Regions from separate parts of the Homo sapiens genome. Here region 2 is linked to region 1. Evidence: promoter capture Hi-C in 16 types of primary human blood cells and fetal thymus (Javierre and others, 2016). All regions are on one chromosome and are shown on one strand. The core of a region is centred on a gene start or on the middle of the fragment in contact, and the rest is flanking DNA. Distances in the headings are between cores, read along the strand shown.

What was found. Contacts are between HindIII fragments. The CHiCAGO score rates a contact against its expected background, and 5 or more counts as called.
Region 2: a fragment that was not itself captured here is called in contact with the fragment with the promoter of ENTPD3-AS1 in region 1 in 1 of 17 cell types (neutrophils); the score reaches 6.4 in neutrophils.

The regions. Positions count from the first base shown.
Region 1 is chr3:40,452,058-40,458,689 of GRCh38, reverse strand. ENTPD3-AS1 (ENTPD3, EIF1B and MYRIP antisense RNA 1) reads left to right here and starts at 5,382. Exons shown (of 4, transcript NR_040100.1): 1 at 5,382-5,568. It overlaps RPL14 (ribosomal protein L14), which reads right to left and starts at 1,351. Exons shown (of 6, transcript NM_001034996.3): 1 at 1,216-1,351; 2 at 699-800; 3 at 1-48. The coding sequence starts at 1,218. RefSeq lists a silencer at 1,066-1,115 and enhancers at 1,258-1,552, 5,489-5,558, 5,579-5,648. The HindIII fragment of the contact is 7,917 bases long and covers 1-6,576 here.
Region 2 is chr3:44,762,940-44,770,359 of GRCh38, reverse strand. The region is part of intron 1 of KIF15 (kinesin family member 15); the gene reads right to left. Among named protein-coding and RNA genes, the nearest start is that of KIF15, 4.9 kb to the right of the region's middle. The HindIII fragment of the contact is 3,204 bases long and covers 1-2,979 here.

The DNA of each region.
Region 1 (6,632 bases), core at 4,133-6,632:
AGGCATGGCCTGTCTCCTCACTTGAGTGCAAGGTCCATCGACCAAAGCCTAGAACACAAACATCAAGAACTTCAGTGCAAAATCTAACAGCAATTAAAATGGTCAGATGGTTCTGTAACATTACTTATCCGTTCAGGGCCATCAAACCCACACTACTATTTTAATAAATTGCTCAGAAAAGACAAGGATTGTCCTATCTGGGTTATATATATGTATGTCTTTTGCTCAACACAAACATTTCTCCACATCATTAAATGCTCCTTCTTAAACTATATAGTACCCCATAGAAACCAACCACATGTAATTTACAGGCAACTTTAGGACTCTGATCCCTGCTGATTTATAGTCAGTGGTCAACTCCTTAGTTTGCTTGTTTCAAATACACAGCAGTAAATACAAAAGTGCTTTCTACGTGCTGGATCTGTTCTAAACTCACTTTACGTATAGTAACTCATTTAAAACTAACCAACGTTTCAGCCTATAACTGGCTCTAGCTTAAGTGGCTAATACTGAAATTCAATACTAATAGCTAACTTCAGGCTGTGCTTAAAACCCGTACCATTACCTGTTTCCTCAATGGTAAAATAAAGCGACTACCCATAGCATCCTCATCTTACACAGCCATCGAGACAATTCATTATTGCCATCTGCAGGGCACATGTCCACTGCCATGTTTAGTAAAAAGTTGTGACACTTACCCTGTTCTGATCAATAACATCTACAATCGCGACCAATTTTCCGGCATGAGGTCCAAAGGAGACATAGGCCACCCGGCCAACCTCCACGAAGCGCCTGAACACCTAAAATTGGAGGAGAAAGGACAGTGAAACTTACTTAGAAATACTCGCTACATATGTCACCTTCTGCAGCTAAAGACAACATGGTTAAATTCAGCGAAAAAGAATGCTGCAGGGAACAAACGCCCGAGAGCCAGGCGCCAACCTGGATGGACGAAATCAGCAAACGCCTCAGTAGCTTAAGCCCGGTTCCCAACGCCCGCCAGCTCCCAGGTCCGCAAGGCCCACACGGCAGGACAAGGCTCTCGGACCACGAGCCGCATCAGCCATCCAGCTCCAGCGGCGGAGGCGCGCACGCGTGGCCCAAGGCGCGCCAGGCCTGCCGGGCCCTCCACGCGCTCGCCAGCGGCGAGTCCGGGAAGGGCGCGAGTCCGGGAAGGGCCCGATTCCGCTGCACAGCCGGCCCGGGGACCCTCACCATGCGCTTCCCGGGACCCTCTGGGAGCCGTTTGGCGCCTCAGCTTCCCAGCGGAGGTGGAGGTCGAGCGGCATGGTCGACGGCCCCGGAGCCCGCAACAGTAAGACTCACCATGTTGGCGGCGTTAGGCGAGAAGGAAGAAGACCCGCCCAACCCTGCGCATGTGTAGAAGAACGCACCGCCCCTGCGGTAACGAGTCACCGACGTGAGCACCGATTGGTTGGTGCGTGCGTGCGTGCGTGCGTACGCACGCGCTCGCAAGCTCACTGGGAAAACATGGCGGAGTCGGCTGGCGTTAAGTTGCTTTTTGGCAAAGTTGGGCGGCGAGATTGTTTTTGGTGATTTGGATTAGAAAGCTGCAGGAGGGTCATCGCTTAGTAATTTAGGGTTAAGAGTACAGAAGCTATGTCTTCCGTTGGTCGCATGCCATTTGAGTTCCTTTTTATTTCCTCGAGTTTTATTTGTTGGTTATTCATGGCTAGGTCTGTTCGCTCCTCACGTTCTCTCCTAATCTCAGTAACTTTGTTAACCTTTCATTTTCAAGTAATTCACAGTTACAGAAATATTGCTAAACTAGTACAAATAATTCCCACAAACCCTTCTAGATTCCACAAATGTTAACGTTTTGCATGTGCTATATCATTTGAAAGGAAATTGCCGACATGATGTCCTTCTATCGCTACATTTTTTTTTTTTTAAAGACGGAGTCTCGGTCTGTTGCCCAGGTTGGAGTGCAGTGGCGGGGGCTTGGCTCACCGCAACCTCCGCCTCCCGGGTTCAAGTGATTCTCCAGCCTCAGCCTCCCAAGTAGCCGGGACTACAGGCGCGCGCCACCATGGCCGGCTAATTTTTTTGCATTTTTAGTAGAGACAGGGTTTCACTATGTTGGCCAGGCTGGTCTCGAACTCCTGACCTCGTGATCTGCCTCCCTCAGCTTCCTAAAGTGCTGGGATTACAGGCGTGAGCCGCCGTGCCTGGCGTTACATTCTTTTATAGAGACAGGGTCTCCCTCAGTCGCTCAGGCTGGAGTGCAGTGGCGCGATCATGGTTCCCTGCAGCCTCTAACTTCTGAGTGAAGACGATCCTCTCGTCTCGGCCTTCCAAAGTGTTGGGATTACCGGCGTGAGCCACCATGCCCAGCCTATCTATACGTTCTTAAAATGTGTATTTCCTAACAACAGAGAGATTCTCTTATGTCATCAGTACACTTATCAAAATCAGGAAATTGATATTGCAATAGTACTATTATCTAACCTTCAGTCCTTATTCAAATTTATAAGTTGTTGCTCCTATGTTCCTTGGAGCAAATGGGAAAAAAAATTGTTTTTCCAGGCTCTTGATCTAATGGAGGATTACAAATTGCAATTATTTATCAGGTCTCTAGTCTTTAACTGATAGTTTTAGATTTAACTGTTAAATTTGTAACATGGGTTTGTTGGAGTTTTCCTCATTGGATTCAGATAGTGAATTTTTGGTAGAAATGCTATGTCCTTGGTGCATCACATCAGAATACATTCTCTCTCTCTTCACTCTCTCTCTCTCTATATATATACGCACACACAAACACTTTTTTTTTTCTTTCTTTTTTTGAGATGGACTCTCCCTCTGTCACCCAGGCTGGAGTGCAGTGGTGCGATCTCGGCTCACTGCCACCTCTGCCTCCCAGGTTCAAGCAGTTCTCTGCCTCCCGGGTTCAAGCAGTTCTCTGCCTCATCCTCCCAAGTACCTGGGATTACAGGTGCCTGCCACCACGCCCGGCTAATTTTTGTGTTTTAAGTAGAGACAGGGTTTCACCATTTTGGCCAGGCTAGTCTTGAACTCCTGACCTTGTGATTCACTTGCCTCAGCCTCCCAGAAGTGCTAGGATTACAAACGTGAGCCACTGTGCTTGGCCACACACATATACATTTTTTCGAAGAGATGGGGTCTGGCTGTGTTGCCCAGGCTGGAGTGCAGTAGCTATTCACAGGTCTGATTGTAGCCTGCTACAGCCTTGAACTCATGGGCTCAAGCAGTTCTGCTTCAGCCTCCAGAATAGTTGGGACTACAGGAATACACCACCACACATGGGTTCCCAATATTGTGGTGGTATTTTATTCTTTAGATTTTTACCCAGGCCAGTGCAGAGAGGTGTTACCTTTTATCACTTGATTAAGGTGATGATCTTTGCCATGACAGTTCCCAGATGTATTTCAAGCCTTTCCTCTAAGCTCTATGCCAGCATATCTTCCCTGAGACTGCTCTAGCAGCCTCCTAAATTCTGTCTTTAATCTGTTCTCTGCTCAGCAGTTAGAGGGATCTTTTAAGTAAGTAAATCAGATCACATTATTTCCTGTTTTTAACAGTTCGATTGCTTTTCATAATATTTGGAATAAAATCTCAACTTCTTACTCTGGCCTTGTATCATATGCTTTAATACCCAGATACACCTTATGCCATCCCTCCTTCATTGTGTTGAAGCCACACTGGTCTTGAATGGGCCAAGCTCTCTCCTCCTCCATGACCTTTATACATGGTGTCTCTCTTGCCAGGAATGGTCTACCCATTGTTAATACTCATCGTGTAGCAGTGCCAACTTATCTCTTGTATTTTTTCCTAGATATTTTTCTGAGAGTTAACCAGGCTACCACATAAAAAAAGGTTAAGTCCCCACCCTTCTTTTTCTAGCTCACCTTGTTTCCCTCAGAGTTATCACAATTGCAATTGTTTGACTTGTTTTGCTGCCCACGTAGGTGTTGTTTCGTTCCAGTTAGAATAAGTTCCATGAGGGCAGGACCTTTGCTGTCTTTTCTGTTTTATTTTCTCACCTTAGTCTGGTAAGGGGCTCAATAAATAGGTAGTGAATGAATCAGTCTTTAGGTCTTGTTGTCTTGCTTTATAATTTACAAAGCAAAAGATATGAATGAAGAAGAATGTTCATTTTAGCATTTTTTTTGCTACTATCTCCAAACTGGAAATTACCCAAAGGCCCATAAACAAGAGACTGGATAAATTGTGATAACAATCTATAGCAACGGAGTCTACAGCAACTACATGGAACAATGCGGATGAATTTCATAAATAACACTAACAAATAAGCTGACACAATATATCCTGTATGCTTTTATTTATATCAAATTCAAAACAGGCAAAACTAATCTACAGTTCTTATAAGTAATGATCATATTTACCTTTGGTGCAGGCAGCAGTGGCTAAAGGGGAAAAGGGGAGCTTCTGAGCTGCTGGCCATGTTGTTTCTTCATCTGGTGTTAACTACGGGAGTGTGTTATTATTTTTGTTTTAAATTTTTTTAGAGACGGGTCTTGCTATGTTGCCCAGGCTGATCTGGTACTCCTGGCCTCAAGCCATTCTCCTGCCTAAGCCTCCCGAGTAGCTGGGATTAGGGGCACGGGCCACCCCGCCTGGCTGAAGTGTTTGCTTGTGAAAATTCAGAGCCCTATCCATATGGTTTATGCGTTTTCTCACCAAATGTATGTTAACCTAAAAAGTTTTTTTTTAATGCAGTTTCCTGGCTGTACAACCAGAGAACTTTATTTGCAGGTCTGGTGAGGGGCAAGAATCTGCATATAAAAACAAGCTCTCAAACACACTTTGAACTTCCCCGAACACAATTTGAGAAACACTTTGGGACTCCCCCTACAGTTACAGAATTATTTTCTAAAGTACATTATCTTGTTATATCACTCCTGTTTAAAGTTGATTTTTATCCCCTATCTTACAGGATATAGTCCAAACTCCCTAGTCTGGCATTCAAGGCACTCCAAAATCTTACTCCCAAACACCTTCCTAGCTTTTTTCTCCGACCATTCTGCGTCTCTCATTCCTATTTCCCGCAGCATTTCATGCAGCTTGAGCCCCCTGTTTCCTAAAATGTGCTCCCCACAAGCATCTCGAGATCCCCATCCCAGGCAGCCCCAGGCAGTTTTTAAGTTTCTACCAAGCTCCACTATACTGGCAAGGCAACTTTCCCCAAGCAAGTCTTGTTTCCTTCGGAAGGTCGCAGGCGCCCAGGAATGAACAGGATAACTGCTAGTGGCTCCAGATGTCAGAAAACAGATGACCAGATCGAGCACGCGCAGATCTCTGGTTGGTCGGCTGTGTGCCTCCGGAAGGCCCGCCCTGCTCGTCCAATCACGGAGAGGGAGGGCACGTTGAGAGTGATGCCAGGAATCAAGATGGCCGCCTGGGACCGCTCTCAGCCCCTTCGGCCTCTACCTGAAGAGCCACGCCCCGTCTGCTACACCCAACTGATTGGTTCCTCAATCACAGAGAGGAAAGGCAACATGAGGATGACGTCAGTTACAAATATGGCGTTTTGGACGGGCTCGATAGTTTGCTTGGCCTCTACTCAAGGTGCGTCCGGACGTCCAATCACCAAGGGGCGCAGTCGGCTCTTAAATGTGGAGGCAGGGGCCTAGACACTCAGGCTTAGGGGATGTCAGCTGGTACTGTGTACGAGCTGTCCTGTAAACCGTCGCCCGTCCCCTGAAGCCGCGCCCCTCTTCTCTTGCTTGTTGCAAGGGACGGATGTGAAGGGCTGGGCGGGCGTCGAGCTTTGGGTTCTTGCAGTGGGTCATAGACCTGAGGGCACTAGTCCCGCGGCCCAGATGGGGGATGCGAGGGACAGTAGGAGCACGTCCACTTGTCCCACAGTCTCTGCGGTGTCACGAGGCCAGGACTGCCTGCCTGTAACCAGATTGGCCCCTGTATTTGTCAGCTTCAGCTGACTAGATATGTCTCAGTTTTGTTTGTTCAGACACTGGCGATGGGGGCGTCAGTTTAGCAGACAAAATATTTACCTGTAGCCCCAAAGAAAAAGAAACATAAGTCAGTACAAGAATCAAACCAAAAGCTGTGCAGAACCCTGACTTTCTTTCTTGTTCTTAATAACTAACCTTCCAGAGAAGTGACCTAACCCTAGTTATGACCAAATTGACATGGTAGCCATGTGCATAACTACCTGGCAACGTGGACAGGTGCATTTGTATTTAGGAGTGAAAAAATGTTTGTTGTATCAGTTTTTGAAATTTGCAATCTTAGGAACCCTGAAGCTGAGCAAGACTGTTCAAGCCCAGTCAGCCTAAGACCACCAGGGACAAACCTGTAGTCAGCAAAACCAGGTCTATCGATCTTTTTTAATGAGGGAGATTGCACACCAGAGACACCATGGGACATTTTACCAGGGGAAGGAAAATATAAAGTTACAGGATTTTGAGGAAGTGTAAAGTTTAGATGGAACTTAAATGAAGCAGGGTTTTAATAGCCTCAAAACAAAGCAGGACTGTGAAAAAGGGTCAACATCAGGCCTAGACTGCAGAGTGGACCCATTGTCCTGTTTTTTTGAAAACCTTTTCTGAAGCTTTGCAACTGGCTGCTTGTAAATTGAAGCTGTATCTCTGTGTTAAAGTGACTTAGGT
Region 2 (7,420 bases), core at 128-2,627, 4.3 Mb before region 1:
AGATTCCTTGTGGAATAGAGTTCCATCAAAGCCAATCTAAAAGCCCTCTGTAAAAATAAGTATTCTTGCTGCACTTCATGCAAAGAATCAAGCCAAGTATAAGACCAAAGTCTATTTTGCAAACAACTCAGTCCTATCATGGTTTGTTTTTAAGAAAACTGAGGACTGGAGAGAGATAAATTATGTTTAAAAACTTATCATCATTAAATTCTAGACCCACTAGTTGTTTTCAAGTTTTTTGCCTAGTTCGTTTAAAAACTAACCCTGCTTATGCCTGTGATCCAACCAGAGATCTCCAACTACAGCCCAGAAGGAACAAAGGGGGATGGGTAATGTAAAAATCTGAATCAATATTCTAGTTCTAAGCAATTATCCTGCAAATCCTGCTAGGTGGTGGGAATAAATACAGTGCCTGTCATCCAGAGGTTTCCTTTTTGGGAAAGTAAGACCAAGGGAGCTAACCAAAGCCAAGCTCCATGCACCCAAATCTTAGCAAACATAACTATAGCCACCAGTTATCTGGGTGTGTCACAGGGCATCCTTTTCTTTCCCTTGGAGGAGGACCCCTTTCACAGCTTCACCTTAGCATTCAGCTTATGATAAGGAGTCCATACAACCCCTGAGACATATTTTTGGTCCCAAACTCAATTCCCAACTTCAGGTCAAAGCCCTAAGAAAAAAAAAACTGGATCTGAGGGATCCAGAAGCAGACGGTAACAGAAGTTAAAAAGCACAGCACAGGTGAGCATGACTAACTCCTGCCGATTAAGCCAAGCCTCCTGTTTCATGGATAAACATCATGCTAGTATCCACGACATAAATGAGGTCTAGAGAACTTGAAGGCTACTGACAGCAGGGGAGATAGGGCGTACGTGGGTAAGCCCTGTTAACATGGGGGAAAGCCGCTTTGACATTCATGGGTGGCACCCTTTGATGATCACCCAGGTCTTGGGGATATAAGGACAGAAGAAATGAAAAGGGGCACGTCACTTTCTCCCTCCCTCACCTACCCTGGGTATTCACTAGGAAGAGAAAGGAACCAGGGACACCTGCTCCCCTCTTTCTTGATGGATTGCCATTCATCTTCAGTCTGTGGCCTTTTTGAATACATCCTGAACCCCTGGGACTCCTTTGAAAAAAACACCTTCTTTTTTCCTTTTCCCCTTGTGTCCTCTCTTCACAGATAGGTAATTGTGTCTCCTTACTACAGCACACTCCCCTTGGATCCATCCTCTAAACTGCGAAAAGTTAATTTCCCAAACCTTAAACTTGAGAATAGCTTAGGACTGGGCTTGGGGGAAGGGAACCTCGAAGACTGACAAGCCAGCAAAAGGGTAAAAATTTTTTTTAACTTTTAACAATCAGGCTTTTGGCCTCCCTCTCCCTGTGCAAACCAGTAAAAGGCCTCGGGATTTTCGAGCATGACTTCTGGCATGACTTCTGTCCTTACCCCATCCTTGTTTTGTTTTGATACATGTTTTCTAATAACTCAGTTTGTCTCTTCTCGCCTTCAGGTCATCAAACTCCAGTCGTGCAACTGGAGCCTCAGATAATGGTCCCTTTTGCCAGGAACCTTTAGATTGGCCTCTTAGGGAAATCTGACTGCCATTTTCCCAACACAGCACCCCCTGTCAGCAGGAAGCAGTTAAGATTGGTCTTTGTCCTTATCTTTATTCTAAGGGCAGTTAGATGTACTTCTTTAGAGTGGGGAATGATAGAGACAGGAGACAGCCAAACGCCTGCCGGGTCACTGAAAAATTCTGTCCCTTAACACATGCGCAGTAAGGAAAATAAATCAATGTGGAGTGGCTCAGACTAAAGGCCCACATGCGCCCTGGGAGAATGGAGTGGAGCCACTGGGAATTTGCACCTTATGCAGGGGGAGAAGCCTGGCCTCTTCAGCTGGTGTATCACACTTTTTTTCACTGAGAGCTTCCTTTTAATAAATTCCACTCTCCTCATCTTTCGATGTGTCCGCGTGCCTGATTTTTCCTGGTCATGCAACACGAACTTGGATTTTAGCTGAGCTAAGGAGCAAAAAATCTTGCATCAGTGGTTTTTTTTTTCTTTTCTTTTCTTTTTTTTTTGAGACGGAGTCTTGCTCTGTCACCAGGCTGGAGTGCAGTGCCACGATCTTGGCTCACTGCAACCTCCACCTCCCAGATTCAAGCAATTCCCCTGCCCTCAGCCTCCCAAGTAGCTGGGACTACAGGGTGCACCACCACGCCTGGCTAATTTTTTGTATTTTAGTAGAGACGGTGTTTCACCATGTTGGCCAGGATGGTCTTGATCTCCTGACTTTGTGATCTGCCCGCGTTGGCCTCCCAAAGTGCTGGGATTACAGTAGTGAGCCACCATGCCTGGCCTGTTTTTAAATACTAGGTACAAATTGATGATTCACAAATTTAAACCTTCCTGGACTGCTGTCCTGAGCTCCACACTCCTTTTTTTTTTTTTTTTTTTTTGAGATGGAGTCTCGCTCTGTTGCCCAGGCTGGAGTGCAGTGGCGCAATCTCCGCTCACTGCAAGCTCCACCTCCCGGGCTCATGCCATTCTCCTGCCTCAGCCTCCGGAGTAGCTGGGACTACAGGGGCCTGCCACCACGCCCTGAGAATTTTTTGTATTTTTAGTGGAGACGGGGTTTCACTTTGTTAGCCAGGATGGTCTCCATCTCCTGACCTCATGATCCACCCGCCTCGGCCTCCCAAAGTGCTGGGATTACAGGCGTGAGCCACCACGCCCAGCCGAGCTCCACACTCTTACAACTTATTACCTATTTGATATCTCTAACTGGATATGCAGTGGGCAATGAATCAAATTTAATGTGTCCAAAATTGAGCTCCTGATCACCCCACCTCTAGCCCAAATGTGTTTCTACATCTCCGTTAACTCCATCTTTCCAGTTGCTTAGGCCAAAAACCATATAGTCATCCCTGACCCTGTTCTTTCTCACTCTTCGTATCCAATCTCAGCAAAGCTTTGGCTCTAATTTCAAAATATACCCACAATCCAACAACTTCTTGCCAAATCCACTGCCACAGTGTAGAACCAAGCCAGCAATATCTCTTTATTGTGTTATTACAATAGTCTTTCTGCTTCTCTTTCTCCCCCACTCTCATCTTTTCTCAACCTAGCGGGCAGAATAATTCTGTTAAAAAAGAGTTCAGAGATTGACTTCTGACATGACATTATGAGGAATTCCACTGACCCACTCCCCAGTGAAACTGGTGAAATTTAAAAAAAGAAAGTTGGCCGGGCACGGTGGCTCACACCTGTAATCCCAGTACTTTGGGAGGCCGAAGCGGGCGGATCACGAGGTCAGGAGATCGAGACCACCCTGGCTAACACGGTGAAACCCCGTCTCTACTAAAGATACAAAAAATTAGCCAGGCATGGTGGCAGGCGCCTGTAGTCCCAGCTACCCAGGAGGCTGAGGCAGGAGAATGGCGTGAACCCAGGAGGCGGAGCTTGCAGTGAGCCGAGATCACGCCACTGCACTCCAGCCTGGGAGACAGAGTGAGACTCCATCTCAAAAAAAAAAAAAAAAAAAAAGAAAGAAAGAAAAGAAAAGAAAATTAAAGCCTCTGGAAATGTTCCCAAAGACAAACAGCAAACCAAGAAACATCTGTTCAAGAACATTCATGAAAATTCATCAAGAAAGTTGATCCTGTGTTATTTGAAACAAGATTGCTGTCTCCCTCCCATCTCAGCAAGGCAAACACTCCACTGTAGATTGCAGCAGCCAAGAACACAGGGATCCCTCCAGCTCCTAATTGCAAGGGGTTCCTCCACAGAGTAGCAGGATGTCAGTGTATCATTGTGTCTCCAGCTAGCTACCTGATGCTCAGATAAAGTCCCAGACAAGTGTGGTTGAGAGGTGAGGGCTCTCCCTTCTCCCACACAGCCCTCATCTTGCAACTGCATGCTAAGAACACTGGGGCCCTGATCACCCTTGCCCCAACTCATTAGGCAGTGGTTCTGCACAAGGAAAGGAAAGTCTAGAAGGTGGGCTGCTACACTCCCCACCTTCCCCACAAAATGCTCAGCAACTACAAAGGGTATCACTCAGAGACAAGACTGCCATTATCCCCATCCCCAACTCAAGTCCCCAGGCTCTGAGATTTTGCCTAAAGGAAGAATCAGCCCATAAACAGATAACTCCTAATCTCTTCCCAAAGGAGCTGAATTCATTTGCAACAAAGCATAGAGAAGTTCAAACCTGTCTAGGTGTGGTGGCTCATGATGTAATCCCAGCACTTTGGGAGGCCGAGGCAGGTAGATCATTTGAGGTCAGGAGTTTGAGACCGGCCTGACCAACATGGTGAAACCCCGTCTCTCTACTAAAAATACAAAACAAAAATTAGCTGGGCATGGTGGCACATGCCTGTAATCTCAGCTACTTGGGAGGCTGAGGCAGGAGAATCGCTTGAACTCAGGAGGTGGAGGTTGCAGTGAGCTGAGTCCACGCCACTGTGGTACAGCCTAGGTGACAGAGCGAGACTCCGTCTGGGGGAGAGGGGGTGGAGAGAAGTTCAAACCTAAGGGCACTCTCAGGAACAGTGTAGGTTTTAGTGAAAGTAATTAGGAAGACATTCAAGATACAAGCTAAATTGCAGGCCTGTTCACTTGCAGAAGACAATGGGGATATAAGACAATTAGGAGTAGCTACACTGGAGTCACAAGAAATATGAAAGAAAACCTCAAAAACTACTCCTTCAATGGAGCAAGAATTGAAGTAGTTTGTAAGACAATTTATGCCCAGGGCATTGTTAAAAAACAATAGAGCAATCAGCTAACAATTACTGGAGTTTAACAGCTGTGTGCAGTCATAGAAAGAAAGAGATCCCTACCAAAACCACTGTCATCCCAGGATAAAGGTGGGCATATCCAAAGCTGGAGCTTTGGATTCCTGAGGAGCAATATCAAAGGCTTAACAGTATAGGAGGGAAATAGACTTCACTAAATTGATCCAGCCAGTTGCTAAGCAAATACACAAGCAAACAACAATAAGAAGCCCCAGAAGGTAGGCTGCCAGCTCTTCATTTCTGCAGAGATCTCTGTAACTGATCAGATGGAAAATGATTAGATGGATACTGATCTGCACTTATGTGCAACTTTCTGGTAAATCTAAAAGGAACCCAAAGTAAAATGTTTACTTGATAAAAAAAGAAGAAAAGTTAATAAGCAAATAGCGAGAGAAAGTGAAATTTAAAACTACACAAATGTAGATAGTTCTGGCATTATTTCTAATTGAGATCTAAGGAAACATCATTGAGAAGTGCTAGGATTTGAACGAAGGCATGCTAAATCCAGATCTCCTACTCTTAACCACCTCAATATGCTACCTCTTGATCAAAGGTTAAAGAGAGTATAAAAGTTTATCATGTGGCTGTCATAAAATTTTGACATTTAAAGGAAGTCTAGGCTGGGTGCAGTGGCTCACACCTGTGATCCCAACACTTTGGGAGACCAAGGTGGGTGGATCATTTGAGGTCAGGAGTTTGAGACCAGCCTTGCCAATATGGTGAAACCCTGCCTCTACTAAAAATATAAAAAATAGCCAGGCTTGGTGGTGGTTGCCTGTAGTCCCAGCTACTCAGGAGGCTGAGGCAGGAGTAATCACTTGAACAGAGATGGAGGTTGCAGTGAGCCAAGATCGCACCCCTGCACTTCAGCCTGGGTGACAGAGCAAGACTCTGTCTCAAAAAAGAAAAGAAAAAAATGAAGTCTATAGGCATTCACTGTAAAATTCTTTCAACTTTGAGGTCCTCTATGTGTCCATCTAAAAATATGCTTAAGTCTATTCTCAGTAGCTTTATTCATAACAGCCCTAACTATAATAAAAACCCAAATGTCAATCAACAGGAGAATAAACAAATCATGGTATACTCACATAATGGAACACTACACAGCAATGAAAAAGAACTGCTGCTACATACAATGATGGACAATGATCACAGACATAATGTTCAGTTGAAGAAACCAGAATAAAAAAAGAATACATACTGTACCATTTATATTAAGTTCAAGAATAGAAGCAAAACTAATCAGTGATAATAATAATCAGAGTAATGGTTGGGGATCAGGTAGTTATTGACTAGGAAGGGTCACAGGGAACTTTCTGGAGTACAGGAACAGTTCTATTTCTTGATCTGGATGGTGGTTACATTAGTGTATTTATATGTAAAAATTTGTTGAATAATATTAAGATTTGTGCCCTTAACTGCATGAAGCTATACCTCAACAAAACAGTAAGTCTTTTAAAGAGTCTTCCTGCTTTAAAACAGACCATTGGATGCTTTACTCTGCAGTCTAGATAAATACTCATCAGTCATTTGCCCAAACATGATTGGGTTCAGAAAGGGAATCTTAGGCCAGGTGCAGTGGCTCACGCCTGTAATCCTAGCACTTTGGGAGGCCAAGGCAGGTGGATTGCTTGAGTTCAGGAGTTCAAGACCAGCCTGGGCAACATGGTGAAACCCTGTCTCTACTAAAATACAAAAAATTAGCAGGGCATGGTGGTGCACGCCTGTAGTCCCAGCTACTTGGGAGGCTGAGGCACGAGTACTGCTTGAACCCAGGAGGTGGAGATTGCAGTGAGCCAAGATTGCGTCACTGCACTCCAGCCAGCCTGGGTGACAGAGCAACACTGTCTTTAAAAAAAAAAAGGGGGGAATCGTATATTTCACTTTTTCATTTCTCTGATTTCACAGTCAGCAACTCATGGTGTCAATGATGTCACTAGAGATAGCCTTCATGGGGCCGGGTGTGGTGGCTCATGCCTGTAATCCCAGCACTTTGGGAGGCCAAGGTGGGCAAATCACGAGGTCAGGAGATCGAGACCATCCTGGCCAACACAGTGAAACCCCGGCTTTACTAAAAATAAAAAAATTAGCTGGGCATGGTGGCGCGTGCCTGTAATCCCAGCTACTTGGGAGACTCAGGCAGGAGAATCTCTTGAACCCGGGAGGCGGAGGTTGCAGTGAGCCAATATCGCACCACTGCACTCCAGCCCGGCAATAGAGCAAGACTCTGTCTCAAAAATAAAAAAGAGAGAGAGAGATAGCCTTCGGGGCACAAAGTAAAAGTTGCAAAGACCACTGCACGGGCTCTCTTCTCCCATGTGTTCCCACTTCATGCTCCAGGCCTCTGGGCTGCTGGGAATGCAAGAAGCACTTTAACTGGGAAGTCATCAACCTCAATTTTGCCAACAAACTTAAAGGAGTGGAAAAGTTCCCCATGGCATCACCACCATCATAAAGGAGAGTGCTCCCACCACTTTAGAAAGGTTCTCAAATTTGGTTTTCAGACAAGAGCCCTCAGTCACATACATATATCTCATTAAATAAGCAGATGTTTTACTTATTTAACAGGCATCAAATTTTTTGCTTGAGTCCAGATTTAGTGACTGATCCATAAA